Regions from separate parts of the Homo sapiens genome. Here regions 1 and 3 are each linked to region 2. Evidence: promoter capture Hi-C in 16 types of primary human blood cells and fetal thymus (Javierre and others, 2016). All regions are on one chromosome and are shown on one strand. Each heading gives the region's core, a stretch centred on a gene start or on the middle of the fragment in contact. The rest is flanking DNA. Distances are from core to core; before and after follow the strand shown.

What was found. Contacts are between HindIII fragments. The CHiCAGO score rates a contact against its expected background, and 5 or more counts as called.
Region 1: a contact is called between a fragment that was not itself captured here and the fragment with the promoter of GAR1 in region 2, in 1 of 17 cell types (fetal thymus). The highest score is 5.0, in fetal thymus.
Region 3: a contact is called between a fragment that was not itself captured here and the fragment with the promoter of GAR1 in region 2, in 1 of 17 cell types (monocytes). The highest score is 6.8, in monocytes.

The regions. Positions count from the first base shown.
Region 1 is chr4:108,852,551-108,855,289 of GRCh38, reverse strand. COL25A1 (collagen type XXV alpha 1 chain) reads left to right here. Exons shown (of 38, transcript NM_198721.4): 25 at 2,365-2,388. Among named protein-coding and RNA genes, the nearest start is that of ETNPPL, 91 kb to the right of the region's middle. The HindIII fragment of the contact is 4,532 bases long and covers 1-2,739 here.
Region 2 is chr4:109,814,511-109,817,210 of GRCh38, reverse strand. It overlaps GAR1 (GAR1 ribonucleoprotein), which reads right to left and starts at 1,449. Exons shown (of 7, transcript NM_018983.4): 1 at 1,407-1,449; 2 at 833-1,058. The coding sequence starts at 1,046. GAR1-DT (GAR1 divergent transcript) reads left to right here and starts at 1,829. Exons shown (of 2, transcript NR_186620.1): 1 at 1,829-2,380. RefSeq lists enhancers at 704-773, 944-993, 1,344-1,393, 1,404-1,803, 1,974-2,073. The HindIII fragment of the contact is 3,017 bases long and covers 1-2,364 here.
Region 3 is chr4:110,495,697-110,498,396 of GRCh38, reverse strand. The region is part of intron 3 of ENPEP (glutamyl aminopeptidase); the gene reads right to left. Among named protein-coding and RNA genes, the nearest start is that of ENPEP, 21 kb to the right of the region's middle. The HindIII fragment of the contact is 8,500 bases long and covers 1-2,700 here.

The DNA of each region.
Region 1 (2,739 bases), core at 147-2,646, 960 kb after region 2:
GGTGTAAAATTCTGGGACCTTATTTTTTTCTTATAACCTTGCCCCCAGTTTGTGGACATTTTACCTTTTACAACAATTTAAAAAATAAAAAAAAAAAACAGTAACAACAGCTCAAATCAGAAATTGGAGTGGAACAGTGGAAAACAGAAGGATGGTGTTCAACTGATACCTACAAGTTTGAATGTAATTGAATAATGTTTCTCTATGACCAGAGTCCCTAAAGGAAATGTTCTCCCCTCTGTGATTTCATAAAGTGGTTATCAACCCCATAGAACTTTCAGCACAGAACCTAGACCAGAAAAATGTTAATTCAAAAATATGATTCATGGATCAGGAATTATGTTTTAGAGATTCAGACTTAGACACGGTATATTTTGTTACAGTTCTCTAACACTTTAAGAAATTAGATTAATTCTTTCAGTATATACCCAGTAATAGGATTGCTGGGTCAAATGGTATTGCTAGTTCTAGATCCTTGAGGAATTGCCACACTGTCTTCCACAATGGTTGAACTAGTTTACACTCCCACAAACAGTGTAAAAGTGTTCCTATTTCTCCACATCCTTTTCAGCATCTGTTGTTTCCTGACTTTTTAATGATCGCCATTCTAACTGGCATGAGATGGTATCTCATTGTGGTTTTGATTTGCATTTCTCTAAAGACCAGTGATGATGAGCTTTTTTTCATATGTTTGTTGGCTGCATAAATGTGTTCTTTTGAAAAATGTCTGTTCATATCCTTTGCCCACTTTTCAATGGGATTGGTTTTTTTTCTTGTAAATTTAAGTTCTTTGTAGATTCTGGATATTAGCCCTTTGTCAGATGGATAGATTGCAAAAATTTTCTCCCTTTCTGTAGGTTGCCTGTTCACTCTGATGGTAGTTTTTTTGCTATTCAGAAGCTCTTGAGTTTAATTAGATTCTGTTTGTCAATTTTGGCTCTTGTTGCCACTGCTTTTGGTGTTTTAGTCATGAAGTCTTTGCCTATACCTATGACCTGAATGGTATTGCCTAGGTTTTCTTCTAGGGTTTTTATGGTTTTAGGTTTTACATTTAAATCTTTAATCCGTTTTGAGTTAATTTTTGTATAAGGTTTAAGGAAGGGGTCCAGTTTCAGTTTTCTGCATATGGCTAGCCAGTTTTCCCAACACCATTTATTAAATAGGAAATCCTTTCCACGTTGCTTGTTTTTGTCAGGTTTGTCAAAGATCAGATGGTTGTAGGTGTGTGGTGTTATTTCTGAGGCCTCTGTTCTGTTCCATTGGTCTATATATTTGTTTTGGTACCAGTCTACTATAAAGATACATGCACATGTGTGTTTATTGCAGCACTATTCACAATAGCAAAGACTTGGAACCAACCCAAATGCCCATCAATGATAGACTGGATAAAGAAAATGTGGTACATATACACCACGGAATACTATGCAGCCATAAAAAAGAATGAGTTCATGTCATTTGTAGGGACATGGATGAAGCTGGAAACCATCATTCTCAGCAAACTAACCCAGGAACAGAAAACCAAACACCACATATTCTCACTCATAAGTGGGAGTTGAACAATGAGAACATATGGGCACAGGGAGGGGAACATCACACACCAGGGCCTGTCAGGGGGTGGGGGGCAAGGGGAGGGATAGCATTTGGAGAAATACCTAATGTAGATGACGAGTTGATGGGTGCAGCAAACCACGATGGCACATGTATACCTATGTAACAAATGTGCACATTCTGCACATGTATCCCAGAACTTAAGTATAATAAATCAATCAATCAATAAATTTTAAAAACTCATTTGTTTTTCTGATTAAGTTCACAAAAAAATTGGAATGCCAAAAAAAAGGAAATTAGATTAATTCTATGTCGACTAATATCTTTAGTTATGGCACACACACACGCACACACACACACGCACAAACACAAAGTTAGTTTTAATGCAACAAATGAGCTGCAGACTAAAAGAGAAAAAATATGCAATTGGGTATTTCAGTTTTCTCTAATGAAGTACTCTCTAGAATAGTGCTTTTATCAATAGCAAAATTTCTCAGTTCACAATTATACTGACAAGCCTCTAGCATATATGACTTTACTGCATTATTTTTTTCAATCAGGTGAATTAAAATTTTGACATTTCTTTTTCTTCAGCCATAGATTTTTTAAATAGGATTCTAAAAATAATTTTTAAAAAATCTCTACAACTATACTGTATTGAAGATAGGGTAATATGTTCTCAGTATCTTGTCAAATCCTTTTAAGATATCAGACTAGCCAAACATATTCAAAAAGTTGATTATTTCACAAATGTATTACTGTACTTTGGCACACAAAATAGATAACTCTGTCTTTGTCAACACATTTTCCCAACAGAGGATTACCACCTTAACTGTCACGGTAACTCCTATTGCATGCTTTCTGTGGTTTGTGGTTTTGTATTTGGTGTTGATGCATGCCAGCCAAAATGGTACTAATGTAGCTATTGTTTTTATCTGATACTTAATTTTATGTTTTCTTGTATTAATAATCTTTTACATTTGCTCCAGTTGAATCACTTTGTCTGCTTAGTGAAAAGGTCAAGAAAAAAGTGATTGCTAATTTTCTTAAAAGTCTCTGGCCTTATCTGAACAATATAGCTTTATTCTTTAGGGTTTGGGAAATCAACGCCTTTGGGGTGGAGGGGTAAGGAGTGTATGTAGAAACAAAGCTAATATTCGTATGCTAATTCATCCCAATACGATGAGTGTG
Region 2 (2,700 bases), core at 200-2,699:
TTTTTTCCTCACTGTCACCATCCTGATTCAGGCTCTCAAGGTCTCATGTATGGACTGGTACAACAGCTTGTGGGCTGGGACCTTTTATTCTAGAAACTGCTCCTTTCAAACCATCCTGCATACTCATCCAAGCCATTCTTAGTTAGACACTACTCACCCTCTCTCCTCTTTAATGTAGTAAGTTTCACTTTCTGTGACTTCCATTCCCATCTCATTGTTAATTACTCTAAAACTACCCTAAATAGGTGTTTTTCTAGATTTCCTCTCTGGCAGTTTCCCTCTCAAGCAAATTGTTTTCTCACTTATCTACTTTTGAGTAGTAACAGAAAGCATGGGCTTTGGAGTCAGAATACTTGGCTTTGTATTTCTTTCTTTTCTGTACAGACAGGGTCTCCTGCTTTATTATCCAGGCTGGTCTCTAACTCCCGGCTTCAAAAGATCCTCCCGTCTTAGCTTCCCAAAGTGTTGGGATTACAGGCGTGAGCCACCGCACCCAGCCTGTATTTCAGCTATATCACTAATTGATCACTTATCACTAACCTTATGACCCCAGCAAAAAAACTTAACTCTAAATCATAGTTTTCTCATCTGTAAAATCGGGGAATTAGGCATAAGTACTCACGATTACCTATTTAATATCTTCCTGTCAACCCTCAAGTTCCACCTCCAAGATGCATTCTAAGTATCCCTCAGCTTTCTTGATCTCCCCACTCCACCCTTACATGCTACATTCTCCACACAGGCTTGTGTATCCCAAACTTGCTGCCTAACAACACAAACCCCCAACCCACACCTACTCCTTCAAATAAGCTAAATACTGAAGACTGCATACAGACTACACGTTCTGGAGGTCCTTGGTCTTGGCCTTTGTTAAAGCCTCCGCGGCCACCCCCTCGTCCAAATCCTCCCCTGCCGCCGCCTCTGAAATTGCCGCCGCCTCCACCGCCGCCTCCACCTCGGAAGTGGTTGCTGCTGCCACCTCGGTTGAAGCCGCCACCTCCACCACCTCGATTAAAGCCTCCACGACCTCCGCCTCGAAAAGACATTCTCTCTCCTCCCTGATGAAAAAAAAACGACCTATGTCTTCTGATCACTGTAGCCTCTGAGTATACTCCAACCCCTCGGAGCTGCGGTGAGAACACCATAAAGGAGACAAAAGCAGCCCTGTCACCTCACCCACGGTCAGACAGCCAGTGACCACCAACCTGATGGGTGAAGAGTTTACTTCTCCATGGTCTCGTGAGCGCCGACCGACCACACACCACCCTTGCCGCCCCATGATTAGTATCTCCTCCCCCTACAGACAGCAAGGTCTTCGCACCGCATCCCCTTCCTTCCTCCCTCCCTCCGGCAGTTGGGTTCCACGTCCAGCATTTTCAAATCCTCCGGCTTCTACGGCCACTCACCGGCGCCACGTGCCCCTCTGGCCCTGGCCTTGCGCACACACCCACCCGCGGGGTACTTCCGCCGCGCTGGAACCTCCTCGGTTACCGTACCGCCACAGAGTTTTTTAAAGACCAGAAACTTGAATAACTGGTTTGCCAAAAAAAAAAGCCAATCACCCGCGGAACAAGCAACACTGGTTCCAAAACAGCCTTTAGCGCTGGAAAAGTGGCAATAATAGATAACCTTAACCACTAATTTACAACAGAGAGGCCAACTTGCCTGACGCTGAGCCGTGGAAGTGACGTATAACAGCGGCGTCCTTTGCAGCACGACGTCCCGGAAGTGCTGCGGCAATGTTGCTCTTGGAGATAGCTGGCGTTAGGGATCCGCCTTCTCTCCCAGAGGCGGGGCAGGTTTCTGTTTGGTTGCCGCCCTAACGGCCAGAACTAAAGCACCTTGCAAGGAATGAAGTTGGTTCTTGAAGTCCGTGCTGACTGGCTGGGCGCATTTGCGCATTTGCTTCTCTGGCTGCAAAATGGCCCGCAACAGCACTCACTAATTTGTTGCTAACTTCAGGAACTGTGCGGACAGGTCTCTGAGGCTTCTGAGCCGCGCTATGTCCAGTAGATCTGGGCGCCTCAGAACCTGTCACAGCCGACGGAAGCGTTTATCTGAGTTTCTTGTTTCTTCCCAACCTTTTGATTTTCGCACCATTACGCGCTCAACTATGCCTCTTCTTTTGTCCTATGGTCTCAACTAATTAAAGGAAGAAAAGCAATGCATGTGTGTGTGTAATTTTAAAGAAACTATGCTGTCTTATAGAAAACCAAACCATCATTTTTATCTTTTGTACCAGGTATTCAAGTATGTTTTGAGCACCGACGGGCTGTGAACTGGACTGTGCTGAAAGCTCCTCTCCCTCTTCTCTCTTTAAGCCCTTTATATTTGACATCAGCTTCCCCCACATTCTCCAAAGCTTCTCTCACAAATAAAGGTAATGACTTCCCATTTATTAAATTTGGTTGGAGTCTTTTACACCCAAACCCTCTGAGACCTTACCTTGATATTTGATCTCGTGTTTAGAAGAGGGTGGAACTTGGTACCTATCTAATTCAGAGGGTTATTGTAAATGGGATTTTAAAATACCTTTGTAGGCGGGGCGTGGTGGCTCACGCCTGTAATCCCAGCACTTTGGGAGGCCAAGGCAGATGGATCACTTGAGATCAGGAGTTCGAGACCAGCCTGGCCAATACGGTGAAACCCCTTCTCTACTAAAAATACAAAAATCAGCCGGGCATGGTGGCACACGCCTGT
Region 3 (2,700 bases), core at 108-2,607, 680 kb before region 2:
CATCCCGCAGAAGTAGCACCATTTACCTCTTGAGGTTTTTTTTGCAAGGTCTCATCTGAGCTGTTCCAAAGAGCCACATCATTTTAAATGACGAGCATGCTTAAAGGATCCCCCAAAAACAAGCTGAGATCCTTGGCACTCAGGGCTAGTAACACCAAGAAAGACCTGAAAACACACTTGGGTGGCACAGGGCAGTGGTGACTGTATCTGGTGCACATCTTAATTGAAGTACAGATATCAGCATATTTCACTCTCTTCAGGGTTTAGCATCCTCCAGTGCACATAGTAGATGCTCAATAAAAATGTACACAATAATCAGTTTGAAGAAACTGTTTCATTATCAATACTGAGGTAGCCAGGATGAGAAAGAGAAAATAAATCTATATTGTTTTTAAATATATAAATGCATATTTAAGGTACATAGCTGGTATTACTGAACATGCCATTAATGTGTTAAATTTTATAAAGTTTATGTTCTTTTAAATATTCTTCCAGTAGTAGGTGGAAAGTTAGCAGAGGAGGGTACTTAGTTGAAAGGAATAGTGATACATCAGTTTTTTTCTTTTTAAGTTCTGCCTTATCAATGTGATATATTCTTTCTAAATTTTAGTTTGCTCCTTCCTCATAGATAAATTAGTATGAATATGCAAAACCTTGGTTTGAAGTTTAGGTGAAAAAACACCTTTTTTTCCGCTGTAGCTATGCTGGTTCAAAACATGTTCGGACTCTGAGTCGGAACTCACCTGCTATGAATTGCTGTTTAAGAAGAAACTCAGCACGGCCATTAGGTTACACAAAGCATTTATTGGCCACTTACTTTCCATTTAAGTTAAAATTTAAGTTGTCTGATGCTTAGTGATTATTACTGCAGTATAATTTTTAAGAAATTAAAAAATGAACATTAAAAAATCTAAATTACCCCATAAAATCTTACATTATTTTTATTATTTTGTTTATATTTTTGTAAATTTAAATAAAAAATAAGAATCATTAGCAATCCTCCGTGGCTTACTAAATTAAACAGTTTCCTTCAAGGGAGATTAATAACCTTCCATTTAAAGATAACCCTTCCAGTAAAGAAATTAATTAAAAAAAACTAATTAAAATGTTCTAGAAATCAAATTCATTCTGAAAACTTAGCAAAGCCACAGCCAAAATAAGTTTTTAAAATAATGAAATGACCATATGTCAAAAATAATTCTGAGGAAAACAGAAAAATCACCTTTAGAACACCACAATAACAGTTGTTGTGGACATCCACTGGGGAATGCTACAATAAGTGGTCAAAACCTGAAGAACTAACAGGATATTCACATAGCCTTTAATTATCACTCCCTAAATATTTATTAATCACTGTGGTGGTCATAATGTATATCCATAAATTCTTTGTGACTCCTCCCTCCAGGAAGTAGAGCTTAACTCTCTTCCCCTTGGGTGTGGACTGCATTTAGCGATTGCTTCTAAAAAACAGAAGATTGGAATAAAAAACTAGTAAACTGAAGCAGAGAAACCTAGCAGACACCATCTCAACCAAGTGATCAAAGTTAGCATCACCAGGAATAAGTCATGAGGATGTCATGTACCCCCTGATAGGATGTGATGAAAAGGACCCTTCACCTCTGTGGTATTCTCCAAAATCCAAAGCCTCAGTCTAATCTTGAGGAAACATCACACAAACCCAAACTGAGAAACTTTCTACGAAATACCTGAACAGTACTCTTAAAAAGTGTCAGGATCATAAAAAAGAAAAAAACTGAGAAATGTCATATATCAGAATGAATTAAGGAGACAGCATTGCTAAGTATAATGTAGATGTATCATCTATTGGATTTTGGAATAGAAAAGGCACATTAGTGAAAAAACTGGTGAAATCCAAGTAAAGACTGTTGTTTAGTTAATAGTATTGTATTACATTGATTTCTTAGATTTGACGAATGTTTGATAAATGGTTATATAAGATATTAACATTAAGGGAAGGTTACATGGAGACTCTTGTGTCTTTGCAACTCTCTGTAAATCTAAAATTATTTCAAAATAAGAAGTTTAAAAATATATCTCTGAGCATTAAAGCAATGAAACTTAAAAAATAAGATTATTTCTATGAAGAGAAATACATAAATCAAAGTCTATGGCACAAAACCTAAAACTGTTATAAAGATAGGCTGTTTTTAAAAATCCATGGCATATATACATACATACTCTGCCTTCAGCCTATCTTTCTAATCCAGGCAAACAACGGACTAAGATGGAAGCAAGTAAGAAGACACAGACAGTAGGAAGAACCCATTCACAGAGAGAATCCTAGATGCAATTATTCAGCGATCATCCTGTAAGATTTTTGGAAGAAAGTACAACATAATCCCTTCTACTGATATATTAGAATTAATATGGTCATAGTACAAACCTAATTAAATGGATAATATCTTCCACCAGCATTCCCTTAGTGAATAATTCCTCCCAGCTTCCCCCTCTGTTCAGGAAAGCCAAGGAAAACTTGACTAGAGTTGAAATAATCTCCAACAAGGTAATTTCTTGTTTTTGCACATACTTCTTTATAAAATACAGATGCCAAATGCCCCCAAAGAAATTCAAGGGCTCCTGAGATTTTTGTTTCTCAGGAACGAAATCACTCGTGCCATTTATTATTTATTTACTTATTTATTTATGTATACTTTTGAGACCGAGTCTTGCTCTGTCACC